3 separate regions of the Homo sapiens genome follow, and all the other regions are linked to region 2. Evidence: promoter capture Hi-C in 16 types of primary human blood cells and fetal thymus (Javierre and others, 2016). All regions are on one chromosome and are shown on one strand. The core of a region is centred on a gene start or on the middle of the fragment in contact, and the rest is flanking DNA. Distances in the headings are between cores, read along the strand shown.

Evidence for each region. Contacts are between HindIII fragments. The CHiCAGO score rates a contact against its expected background, and 5 or more counts as called.
Region 1: a fragment that was not itself captured here is called in contact with the fragment with the promoter of PCDHA2 in region 2 in 6 of 17 cell types (M2 macrophages, M0 macrophages, M1 macrophages and 3 more); the score reaches 18.7 in M2 macrophages.
Region 3: a contact is called between a fragment that was not itself captured here and the fragment with the promoter of PCDHA2 in region 2, in 6 of 17 cell types (M1 macrophages, erythroblasts, M2 macrophages and 3 more). The highest score is 13.8, in M1 macrophages.

What each region holds. Positions count from the first base shown.
Region 1 is chr5:141,313,575-141,317,621 of GRCh38, reverse strand. No RefSeq gene overlaps it. Among named protein-coding and RNA genes, the nearest start is that of TAF7, 5.2 kb to the left of the region's middle. The HindIII fragment of the contact is 2,150 bases long and covers 841-2,990 here.
Region 2 is chr5:140,792,080-140,796,129 of GRCh38, reverse strand. It overlaps PCDHA2 (protocadherin alpha 2), which reads right to left and starts at 1,278. Exons shown (of 4, transcript NM_018905.3): 1 at 1-1,278. The coding sequence starts at 1,165. All of the region lies in intron 1 of PCDHA1 (protocadherin alpha 1), which reads right to left. It also overlaps PCDHA@. The HindIII fragment of the contact is 8,329 bases long and covers 1-4,050 here.
Region 3 is chr5:141,335,952-141,339,938 of GRCh38, reverse strand. The region is part of intron 1 of PCDHGA1 (protocadherin gamma subfamily A, 1); the gene reads right to left. PCDHGA2 (protocadherin gamma subfamily A, 2) reads right to left here and starts at 1,179. Exons shown (of 4, transcript NM_018915.4): 1 at 1-1,179. The coding sequence starts at 967. It also overlaps PCDHG@. The HindIII fragment of the contact is 3,193 bases long and covers 1,129-3,987 here.

The DNA of each region.
Region 1 (4,047 bases), core at 666-3,165, 520 kb before region 2:
CCCGCCTTGGCCTCCCAGAGTGTTGGGATTACAGGCATGAGCCAGCGCGCCCGGCCTCTTTTTTTTTTTTTTTAAGACAAAGTTTTGCTATTGTTGCCCAGGCTGGAGTGCAGTGGTGTGATCTCGGCTCACTGCAGCCTCTGCCTCCTGGGTTCAAGCGATTTTCCTGCCTCAGCCTCCCGAGTAGCCGGGATTACAGGCATGTGCCACCACACCTGGCTAATTTTGTAGTTTTAGTAGAGACAGGGTTTCACCATGTTGGTCAGGCTGGTCTTGAACTCATGACCTCAGGTGATCTGCCCACCCTGGACTCCCAAAGTGGTGGGATTACAGGCCTGAGCTACCACACCCGGCCTAAAGTCCATTTTACTTCTATCTGACAAGAAACAGTATTGAAATGTTAAAAAAAAAAAAAAAGTTACCTAGTCCTCAGGTCTATAATTAAATATGCTGACATTTGCAGACTTCAGAAGGCTAATTTATCTTTTTAAGTGAAACGTTTTTATGAGTAAGTTTTTTTTTTTTTTTTAGATGGAGTCTTGCTGTGTTGCCAGGCTGGAGTGCAGTGGCGTTATCTTGGCTCATTGCAACCTCTGCCTCCTGGGTTCAAGCGATTCTCCTGCCTCAGCCTCTGGAGTAGCTGGGACTACAGGCATGTGCCACCAAGCCCAGCTAATTTTTGTAATTTTAGTAGAGACGGGGTTTCACCATGTTGGCCAGGATGGTCTTGATCTCTTGACCTTGTGATCCACCCGCCTCGGCCTCCCAAAGTGCTGGGATTACAGGCGTGGGCCACCGTGCCTGGCCGTGACTAGGATTTTAGCACAGAATATGTAAGCTTAAGCAAGGTTTCCCTCAATATCTAGGTTTTATATTATTTCTTGAGGTTTCCAAATAATATATATTAAACAACAACAAAAAAACAGTTTAGGATGCTAGGTGACAAAATTTACTGTTTTTGTAATCTAGGTATTTTGCTACACTTAGAAGATTGACACCTGAAAAGCTCCCACCATATCTGGCTTTACAGTGGATCATTTATCAAGTAGTTTATTCTTACCAAGGTCTCAACACCAATGGTGGCAGTTCCATCAATAACAGAAAGGAAAGATTCTGGATACAATAACAAAATAGTATATTGATCTCACTATTCCTGTTTCAGTTATGAGTTCTAAGTGGATTCTAAAATCCACGTTTCCAACCTTGATTCTTCTGTGCTTCAGGTTTAGTTTAGCCAGATGTGTACTAGAAACATACTTGAAAGTATCTCTCAGGCAACTCAAGTGTAAATGTTCAAAATGGCCGGGTGCAGTGGCTCATGCCTATATCTCAACACCTTGGGAGGCTGAGGCAGGTGGATCACCTGAGGTCAGGAGTTCAAGACCAGCCTGGCCAACATGGCAAAACCCATCTCTATTAAAAATACAAAACAAATTAGCTGGGCATGGTGGTGGGCACCTGTAATCCCAGCTACTTGGGAGGGTGAGGTGGGAGAATAGCTTGAACCTGGGAGGTGGATGTTGCAGTGAGCCGAGATCATGCTACTGTGCTCCAGCCTGGGCAACAGAACAAAACTCCATCTCAAAAAAAAAAATACAGGTTCAAAATGGAACTTTTCCTCTTCCTTGAAAATTTGCTTTTCCTTCTGGGTTCCAGTAAAAATAAATGGCACCACCACACATCCCAACTGTGGAAGCTGGACACTAGAGCCATAACTTTACATTTCTCCCTTTCCCTTGCTACTTTTGATTTTACTTAAGAAGTTCTTCACTCACTCTACTTCATCCTTACAGCCACTGTCCTATTTCAAGCCATTATTATTATCTATCAAATGGCAATAGCTTCTTTACCATCCAATTTAGTTTTCACTGCCACCAAACTCATTTTTCTGAGACATATTTGATTGTGTTACTACCATGCTGAAAACCCTTCAGTGACATCTCATTGCTCTCAGGGCTAGGTTTGTATTTCTCAAAAAGATGCACAAGATTATGAGTTCTCCATTTACCTTTTCAGCCTCAGCTCCGCATTCAGTATATGGTCAGTCCACTCTGAACTTACATTTTTTTCAAGGAGCTTACTCATTCTCCCACTCCTGGGCCATAGATCCTTTTAACAAGCAGTTCACTCCACCTAGATGACTTTACCCTTTGTCTGAGTCCTACTTAACCCTCAGGTCTCAACCTAAGTGACTTCAGCAAGGCTTTTCTGACCCTTTTCTCCCTCTAGGTTAAGCAACCCTATTACGGCTTTGCACTTTGTTCTTCCCTCTCTCATTTATTTGACAAACATTTTGTGTGTGTGTGTGCCAAACTACAAGGGGTGTGTGTGTGTGTGTGTGTGTGTGTGCGCGCGCACCAAACTACAAGCTACTGGATATGCAGTGATGAACAAAGCATTTAGTGTCTATAAACTCATGCACTGCACGGTCTACTGGGATGAGTATCTGTTATAACTAAAGTGTAAATTACCTTTGTTCGTATCTCCTGCTTGGCTTTAAATTTACTGAGATATTTTGCTACATTAGTGACTGTAAACTTACTGAAGAATAGTAGAAAGATCAAAATCTTAACATCAAGACATGTCATGCATGGTTCGTATCCTAGCTCAGTTACCTATTAGTTGTGTGACCTTGCACAGGTAGCAATCTGTTTACCTCAATTTTCTCATCTCCAAAGTGGAGGCAATAATACTACCTACCTCATAGGGTTATTGGGCTGTTGGCTGCTGGCTGCTGAATCATATAAATGACTTATTTAGAACAATGCCTGGAACATAGTAAGTAAACAACAGAAGTAAATTTACCACTATTACAACCCATTAAGGTATGGACCATAACAGATACTAAATAATTAAAGAGTGACTGAAATGTTAGAAAAAGTGTTTATAGGGAAACAACTATTCTAAATGTAATTGTTTTCAAATTTAAGAAATTTTAGAGATCAGTTTCAACCAAATTCAGATGGGAAAAAAAATTCTAAATGAAAGCTTATAAATTAGGTTACAGCAGAAACGGTTTGCTTCAAATTTATCTGCAGCATAAACAAATTTACTCAGCTCTTTCCTCCTACAGTTTAGCACTTACAGTTCTCTTTTCTTGGAATAGTCACCAGATATTCTCATGGATAGCTTTTTGTCACTGAAGGCCCAACTCAACCCTTATTTTCTCTGGTAACCCTATCTGGCCATTCAATCTAATTCTTAAGAAGCATGTGATTTAGATGTTTCATCATGTCAGGTGCTATGTCAAGTGCAGTGGTCTTCATTAAAAAGTTGGAAGGTTCTTTGCTACTATTTTCTAATATATGTGTTCTGGAGGATATGTGCTTAAAAACAGAAGCAGCATCATTCTGGTTAGTTGGAATCAGGGAAATGGTTTTAATTGCTTAAGATTGCCTATTATCTTGGGCAATGTTACTGTATATGCTTGGCTCTGTTTTCTCCAAGTCCAACTGTATGGTCAAATGTATTTCATAGAATTTGACCTCAGGGAATCTGCCTCTGTTACTTGTGTTATTATGCCTGACAATTCATTGAAGGTATTAATGTTCTTGTACTGATCCCTGGCCTTGGTGTTATGGAGTATGGTTTCCAATGTGATATTTTCCTCCAAATAACTTTGTTTAATGGAACTGGGGCATACTGGGACACTGTCATTTACATTTATCTTTAGTTATGGGTATGTGAGTTCCTCTCACTGTTTCACCTCTGGTGGTCATAATGAGATGATGAAAGACTTCCTCTTTCTTTTCTAAATCATTCTGTAAGATCAGCTACATGGTGGTGTCTTTTTTTGTTCTAATTTTAATATCTAGGGAAAAATAAGCATTGCTTTTCAAATTCTAGTTTGCAGACAACATATTCTCATGTTGAAGTTTCAGGTACCCCTTAACTGGAAACTCATGTCAGGCAATAGTCTTACACTAATTTTAATAGATGTCTTTCTACTTGTAAAAGAACACCCGGCTGGGCATGGTGGCTTACGCCTGTAATCCCAGCAATTTGGGAGGCCAAGACAGATGGATCGCCTGAGGTCAGGAGTTCAAG
Region 2 (4,050 bases), core at 29-2,528:
GGGAGCAGGTGACATGTCCATTCGTACCAGAGTCGCGATCCGACACCGTGATGAGAGCAATGACAGTGCCCAGGGAAGCGTTCTCTGAGATGGGAAGTGAGAGAGACGTTATTGAGACTTCTGGTGTGTTATCATTGATGTCCACAAGTTTTAATGAAATTTTACAATGTCCTGACATTGAAGGGGTTCCTTTGTCAGTTGCAGTGACCTGAATCTCGTAGGACTTTGCTTCTTCATAATCTAATTTTCCCTTAGTTCTGATTTCCCCTGAGATGGGATCTATGGTAAACTTAGTCTGTATAGTGGAGGACACATCACTACCGAGTGAATACACAATCTCGCTGTTCGGTCCTTCATCTGCATCAGAAGCGTTTAACTTAACCACTAAGGTCCCATTTGCCGTATTCTCTAACAATTTTACTTTGTAAACTGATTGGGCAAAAGTTGGTTCATTGTCATTTACATCTAATACCTTAATAAGTATTTGAACGGTGCCCGTGAGCTCAGGTTTGCCCCCATCAGTAGCCACCAGTAACAAATTAACCTCAGCAGTTTCCTCTCTGTCCAGCGATTTCCCCAGCACGAGAGACAAAGATTCGCTTAGTTCATCATTTGCCTGTATATCTAGGAAGAAAAACTCACTGGAGCTGAGCTTGTAGGAGAGAAGAGCATTTACTCCTATATCTGCATCAGATGCTCCCTCTAGAGGAAACCGAGAATCAAGCAGCCTTGATTCGGGAAACCGGATAGTCTTTACTGTCATTGGAAATATTGGCGGGTTGTCGTTAATGTCCTTCACCTCCACTTCCACATGGAAAACCTGCAGCGGCCTGTCCACGATCACCTCCACGTGGATGCTACATTCCGCGCTCCGCCCGCACAGCTCCTCCCGGTCGATCCGAGAATTCACAAACAAAATGCCATTCTGCAGATTTACCTCCAGAAGGTCCCCGTGTCTTTTGGACGCCACCCGGAACAGGCGCGGCACCAGCTCCTCCAGCTCCAGCCCCAGGTCCTGCGCGATGCGGCCCACGAAGGTGCCGTGTTTGGCCTCCTCGGGGACGGAGTAGCGGAGCTGGCCGCTCCCCACCTCCCAGGCTGCGAGGAGCAGAAGCGAGAGCAGCCGTGTCCAGGCCCCTCGGCCCCTTCTGATAGAAGACGCCATTACCAATCCTCAATGTTTTGATCAAATTAGAAGAGCATGTTTTGCAAAAATTTAAATATTCTAGTCTCTGTTAAAGTCCTGCTGCTTCTCTTATTCCTCCGCTTCTCTGAAGTAACAAAGGGGCTCTGGGTATTTTCCTTCCTAGAGAACACTCTATGGTGGACAGCGACATCATGTGGCTAAAAGGAAGGCTCTACTGTTTATTCTGTAGATTTAAAACTAGTCGATTTTCTGGTTTAAGTTTACTCATAGCTTTCATCTTGGAAAAAAATAACTATTTTAAGCCCTAAAATATATTACCTTTTTACCCTTTTTTACTCTGGTTAAAAAACACACAACATAATATTTAAAATTACCATATTAACTATGATTAAATGTACATTTCAGTAATGTTAAGTATATTCACATTGTTACAAATTTTTCATCTTGGAAAACAGAAACTCTATACCCATTAGACAACAACTCCGCTTTTCACCGTCACTCCAGTCTCTGGTAACCACAGTCCTATTTTCTATTTCTATGAATTTCACTACTTTAGATATTTCGTGTAAGTGGACTCGTAAAGTATTTGTCTTTTTGTGACTGGCCTATTTCACTTAGCACAATGTCCTCAAGGTTCATCCATGTTGTAGCATGTGACAAGATTTATTTCCTTTTTAAGGCTGAATACTAGTCCATCGTATGTATACACCACGTTTTGTTTATTCATTCAAGCATCCGTGGATGGTTCCTCAAGGTTCATCCATATTGTAACATGTGACAGGACTTCTTTCCTTTTTAAGGCTGAATAATAGTCCAACATATGTATACACCACGTTTTGTTTATTCATTCAAGTATTCGTGGACATTTGAGTTGCTTCCATTTCTTGACTGTTGTGAACAGTGCTGCCATGAACATGGGTGTGCATATATTTCTTTGAGACCCTGCTTTCAATTCTTTTGGATATATTAGCATTTTTCACTATTTCTTCAAATGAAGAACATAGTAATCAAAGGTATTTTAGTCCATTGAAAATATATGTGTATATATACTGTTGTTTTGTGATTTAATTTTGATTTTTGAATTGTTTGCAAATGTTTTGAAATTAATAATTTATTTGTTTCTCATTTGGATAATGTACTATTACTTTAGAATATTCCTTTTCCATTACATTTAGACTTTTATGCAAGAACAATACAATCGATCTCTTTTTTTGTGTTAATTACTTGAGAATATCTTCTTTTGTTAATTTTTAGCTGATCCCTTCACAGTAAAAAAATGAAAATAGAATAAAGATAAGATGAGGATGAAATAAAATGAATCAAGGAGTGGGATAGCATACAAAATCCATAATAAAGGGTCACCTTCAGTTACTCTAACCATGTCACCAATTTTGTTTTCAGCTTCCTAGAGCAAAGAGAGAAGTAAAATTAATTGCAAAATTTGCAATGTCCGTAAGAGAAAAGCAAAGCTCTTGTTAAGAAAAGCTAGCTTTTTTTCCAATAACAATTTTTTTCCCTCATGTACAGTATCTTAAGATACTCATTTGTACCATCTATGGAAATGTGTATTTATGTTAATCATACTCTAACAGTAAATCCCAAGTTAACCGATTTAAGCAAAAATAAACCAGAGAATCCTGTACTGACTCATACATGGAAATGGGTAATTAATTACTGGTTTCAGACAGAGCTGGGTCTACACCCTTCCATAATTCCATAAGGAAAATAATCTCCACATTTATAATTCCTTTTCCCCTGCTGAACTTCTTCTCAGATAGACTTTTCCCATCTGCTGGCAAAATGGCCAAAGTAGCTTTCTAGACTAAAAATTACCAGTTTGATGACTCTTACCAGAAAGTGCTCTTTTCTAATAGTCCAGCAAAAATCCTGGATATTACTTCCTACAGCCCAGTTTGGATGATGTAAATTTCCTTTAGTCAATAATTGTGATTTTTCTCACATTGGCTAGACATGGGTCCACTTGCTCATTCTTGAAGCCAGGAAATGAAATCAGCTCCACCTAAATTATGTGAACTGAAAAGTGGGAGGTTGGTTTTTATGTGAACTGAAAAGTGGAGGTCATGGCATGTACCCAAATTCTCCTGGAGCTTAAACAGATGGCAGATAGCTTCAGAACTGCTCGTTACAGCATTATGTAGTTGCAAAGCAATTGCATATGTATGATACCCAGTAATTATTATTTAATCTATAGCCAACATTGACCACTGTTGACACATAGAAGGAATTATACCTAGAATCCAGATGCTAGCTTCAGGAAACATGGCTTGCTTGAGACAATTTCTGCAATCATATAAGGTAATTAATTATACCGGATATTCAGAATGACATATGTGGGGGTATAAGAGGCATTTTGTGCTGTTATTTAGGATTTCTGAGAATATGGAATATTTCCCCCTTCCCCCGGAGATAGAATACTATTGCCAGATATGCAAGTACATTTCCCCCACAACGGGGAAAAGAGATTAAGAAGCCATGCTCAGCAAATATCCTTCCTCCCACTGCACTTGATATCTCTTGGTACCTGTTTTGGGTCAAAGATACCCCAAAAGACATCACTTTTCTGAGGTTTAAATAAGTGACCTTATTTGGAATAAAGGTCTTTGCAGATGTAACAAAGATGAGGATCTTGATATGAGATCATCCTAGATTACAGAAGGCCATAAATCCAATGATGGTTGCCCCTTATAAAAGACAGAAAAAGAGAAGGCATATAGTAACACAGGAAAGAAGGAAATGTGAAGACAGAGGCAGGAACTGGAGTTATGCTGCCACAAGCCAAGCAATGCCAAGAGCTACCAGAAGCTGGAAGATCCAAGAAAAAAATTTCCCCTAAAGTCTTCAGAAGAAATGCGGCCCAGGAAACACGCTGATTTTGGACTTCT
Region 3 (3,987 bases), core at 1,476-3,975, 540 kb before region 2:
CCTGAGCTTCAATATCAATTTCATGGAATGTAGCATCCTCATAATCTAGATCTTTTATGATTGTCAGTTCTCCAGATGTTGACTTAAGCTCAAATACCTCTGAGGTTTCTCCAGGGCTTTTCTCTAGAAAATATACCACTTGAGCGTAGTAGCCCTCATCTGCGTCAGTGGCGGTCACCGTGAGTATCCGGGTGCCCACGAGCGTATTCTCCGGAATGCTTATGCGGTACTCGGGCTGTGTAAAAACAGGCGCATTGTCGTTCGCATCCAGGACCTTCACGCAGATGCGGGAGGTGCCAGATAGCACTGGGTCACCCCCATCAGAAGCCACGAGAACGAGGTGGTGAACAGCCTCTTCCTCGCGGTCCAGAGAGCGCTCCAGCACCAGTTCTGGGTACTTGTTCCCATCAGCTCCCCTTCGCACGTCCAGGGAGAAGTGGTCATTTGGGTTGAGTGCGTACTTCTGAAGGGCGTTCTCACCTACGTCTGCATCATGCGCATTCTTAAGAGGAATCCGGAATCCTGGCGTAGTGGTTTCACTGATTTTTAGCTCCAGTTCCTCTACTCCAAAGCGAGGGGCATTATCGTTAATATCTGTTATTTCCACCTCTACTGAATAAATAGTCAATTTATCCTCCAGCAGAATGTTAAAATTCAACAGACAGGGTGCGCTCTGAGCGCAGAGCTCCTCCCGGTCTATCCTGTTCGCAGTGACCAAGCTGCCGCTTCGCGGGTTCAGAGCAAAGAGCTGGGACCTACCTCTGGAGACGATGCGGACTCCCTGCTCTGCCAGTGCCAGGGGCTCCAAACCCAAGTCCTTGGCGATGTTGCCTACGAAGGAGCCTCTGTCGATCTCTTCCCGCACAGAATAGCGAATCTGCCCGGCCCTGGCCTCCCACAGGGTCGCCAAAAGGAAGCACAGCAGGACCAGCTTTCTGCAGTGTGGCAACTTTTGCAGAGCCGCCATTTCCCTCCTGTCGCAATTTTCTCCGAGTCAACTTCCAGCATCCAGTGCGGATTCCAATCTTTATTCCTCAGGGTGTGAGATAACCAGCATTCACGGGACCCAGGTCCCTATGGAGAGAACTGGTGGGCTGTTCGACTGAATTTCTTTGGTGTCCTGAAGCTTTAGGGCCAAACCTCCACCCCCTTGTGCTGTGGGAGCCGTATTGCTGGATTGGATGTCTCGCTGCCTTTTACTCCTTAGGTGGTCAACAGCGACGCTCAGAGGCCTAAATAATTTCTGCACCTGCTCAGGAAAACCTAAGTTACTTCTTGTTTGTTTGCCTTTGTTGACTTTCAAGGCGCTTTAAAGAATCTTACAGCTCTAAGATACCCTAGAATTAGATCTTTCAAAACAGGAATCTTTTTATCAGGATTAATAAGAATGGTATAAATGAACATGATCTTGATAATAGTTGCTAGGAAAGTATTATTGACTGCTCAAGGCATTAATCAATGCCACCACTGCCCTTGCTCCAAACATCTTCCATCTCTTATTGTATAATCAGAAGCAGTAAGATCAATTAAGAAACGTTAGCTACGTTTTCTTCTAAGGTTATATATTTTGAACGTTTATGGTTGATGGCTTTGCATTTACCTTCAAAATCTGCCTTTAAATTATTGAATCATCAGACACTTAATTGGGTACATGTGCCTCCCACTTTGCATGATTGCAGCTGGAGCTAGAAATGGTGAACATGATAAACACAGGCCCTGGTCTCAAGCGTGAAGGTTGGAGGAGGACATAAGAAAGTAAAGAGAGTATAATAGAGTATGGTAACTGCTGTGATATGAGGTAGGAAACACTGGGTGATGGAGGAATACCTAGGAGGGGTATCCAGTCTAGATTTGGGGTCAGAAAAGTCTTTTTGAGGGCATGATTGAAGCTGAATCATAAAAAGTAGGATTGAATCAAGAAAAAGGCTGAAGAAGTGTTCTAGAACCTCTGAACAAATGCTTGAAGGTAAGAGACAGCATGGAACATTACAGAAACAGAAAGCAGGTCTATTTGATAAAGCTAGAGCCGGAAGGGGTTTTTCACCACACTAGGAATCAGTCACTCAAAATTGTTTGAGGTTGTCAAGTTCTTTTTCTGATATTCATTTTCCAAGGGTGTAAAATACAATGCAGTGGATGTCTTCTTACTCTTGTTTCATCTTTACCATTTTGACCATAGTCAAGCATACAATTCTGTGACATTAAGTACATTCAAATTACATTCTGGTGTGACCATTACCACCATCCACTTCCAGAACTTTTTCATCCTCCCCAACTGAAACTCTGTACTTATTAAATAGCAACTCCCCATTGCCTTTCACCCAGTCCCTGGCAACTACCATTCTACCTTTTTTCTCTATGAATTTGACTAATCTAGGAACTTCATATATGAGGAATCATACAGTATTTGTCATTTTATAACAGGTTTATTTCACTTGATATCATGTCTTTGAAGTTCGTCCATATTGTAGCATGTAACAGAATTCCCTTCCTTTTTAAGGCTAAATAACAGCCCATTGTATGTGTGAACCACTTTTTATTTACCCATTCATCTGTCAATGGACACTTGGGTTACTTCCACTTTTCAACTATTGTGACTAATGATGCCATAAACATAGGTGTACAAATATCTGTTGAAGTCCCTATTTTCACTTCTTTTGGGTAATAACCAGAGTGGAATTGCTGGATTATATGGTAATTCTATGTTTAAATTTTTGAGGAGTCACCATACCATTTTCCACAGCAGTTGTGTCATTTTATATTCACCAGCAATGCACAAGAATTCCAATTTCTCCATATTCTTGTTAACATTTCTTTTCTTTTCTTTTATGACAGCAATTCTAATGAATGTGGAGTAGTATCTCATTATGGTTTTGATTTGCATTTCCCTAATGACTAGTGATGTTGAACATTGTTTCATATGGTTTTGGCCATTTGTATATCATCTTTGGAGAAATGTCTATTCAAGTCCTTTGCTCATTTTAACATCCAATTGTTTGGGATTCTTTGTTGTTGAGTTCGAGTTCTTTATTCTGGATATCCATTCTCAGATACATGATTTGGAAACATTTTCTCTCTTTCTGTGGGCTGCCTTTTCACTCTATTGATATTGTTCTTTGCTGCATATAGTTTTTAACTGTGATAAAGTCCAGTATACAATTTTTTTCTTTTGTTGCTTGTGCTTTTGGTGTCATATCCAAGAAATCATTGCCAAAAATCAATGTTATGAAGGTTTCCTCCTGTTTTCTTCTAAGAGTTGTATAGTTTTAGTTCTTAAACATAATAACTAAAAGGGTTTTATTGCTTCTGAATATTGCTTCTTTGATCCATTTTGAATTAATTTTTGTATGTGGCATAAGTGGAATTGCCCATTTCTGGTGACACTTTAATCTGTTTGCCTTTTGGCTCCTTCCTTATTGAAATTTTCTCATTTTTACTTTCATCCATTCCTCTTACAAGACTGAAGAAAAATATATTGGAAATAATTGATACCAACTCACCATGTTTTCTTGTAGAGCTACTATGGTATATTTTGCTTTTGTTTTTTATTTTTATTTTTGTGTTTGTGTTTGTGTTTTTTTGTTTTATAGAGATTGGGTCTTGTTATACTGCCCCGGCTGGATTCAAACTCCTGGGCTCAAGCAATCCTACTGCCTCAGCCTACTCAGTACCTGGGATTATAGGTGTGCCATTGTGCCTGGCTCTCTTACATGAGTCCTAACGTTAGACTTGACAGAATTTTCATTTTCTCCCCACTGGTTTTATTACATTTATTGTCTGCTTCCATTATTTCATCCTCAGAACTCTTCCATGGTTGCATTTCAAAAATGTAACTCTTTGTTATTTTTTCCATCATTTTATTTTAGTATATACTCATTGTATGTTTTTTATCTTACTTCTTGAATGGCAAGCTAAATTCATGTATTTTAAATAATTTTGTTTGCTTTTAAAAAAATTATTGCATTTGTCTATAAACTTACTCCTAAT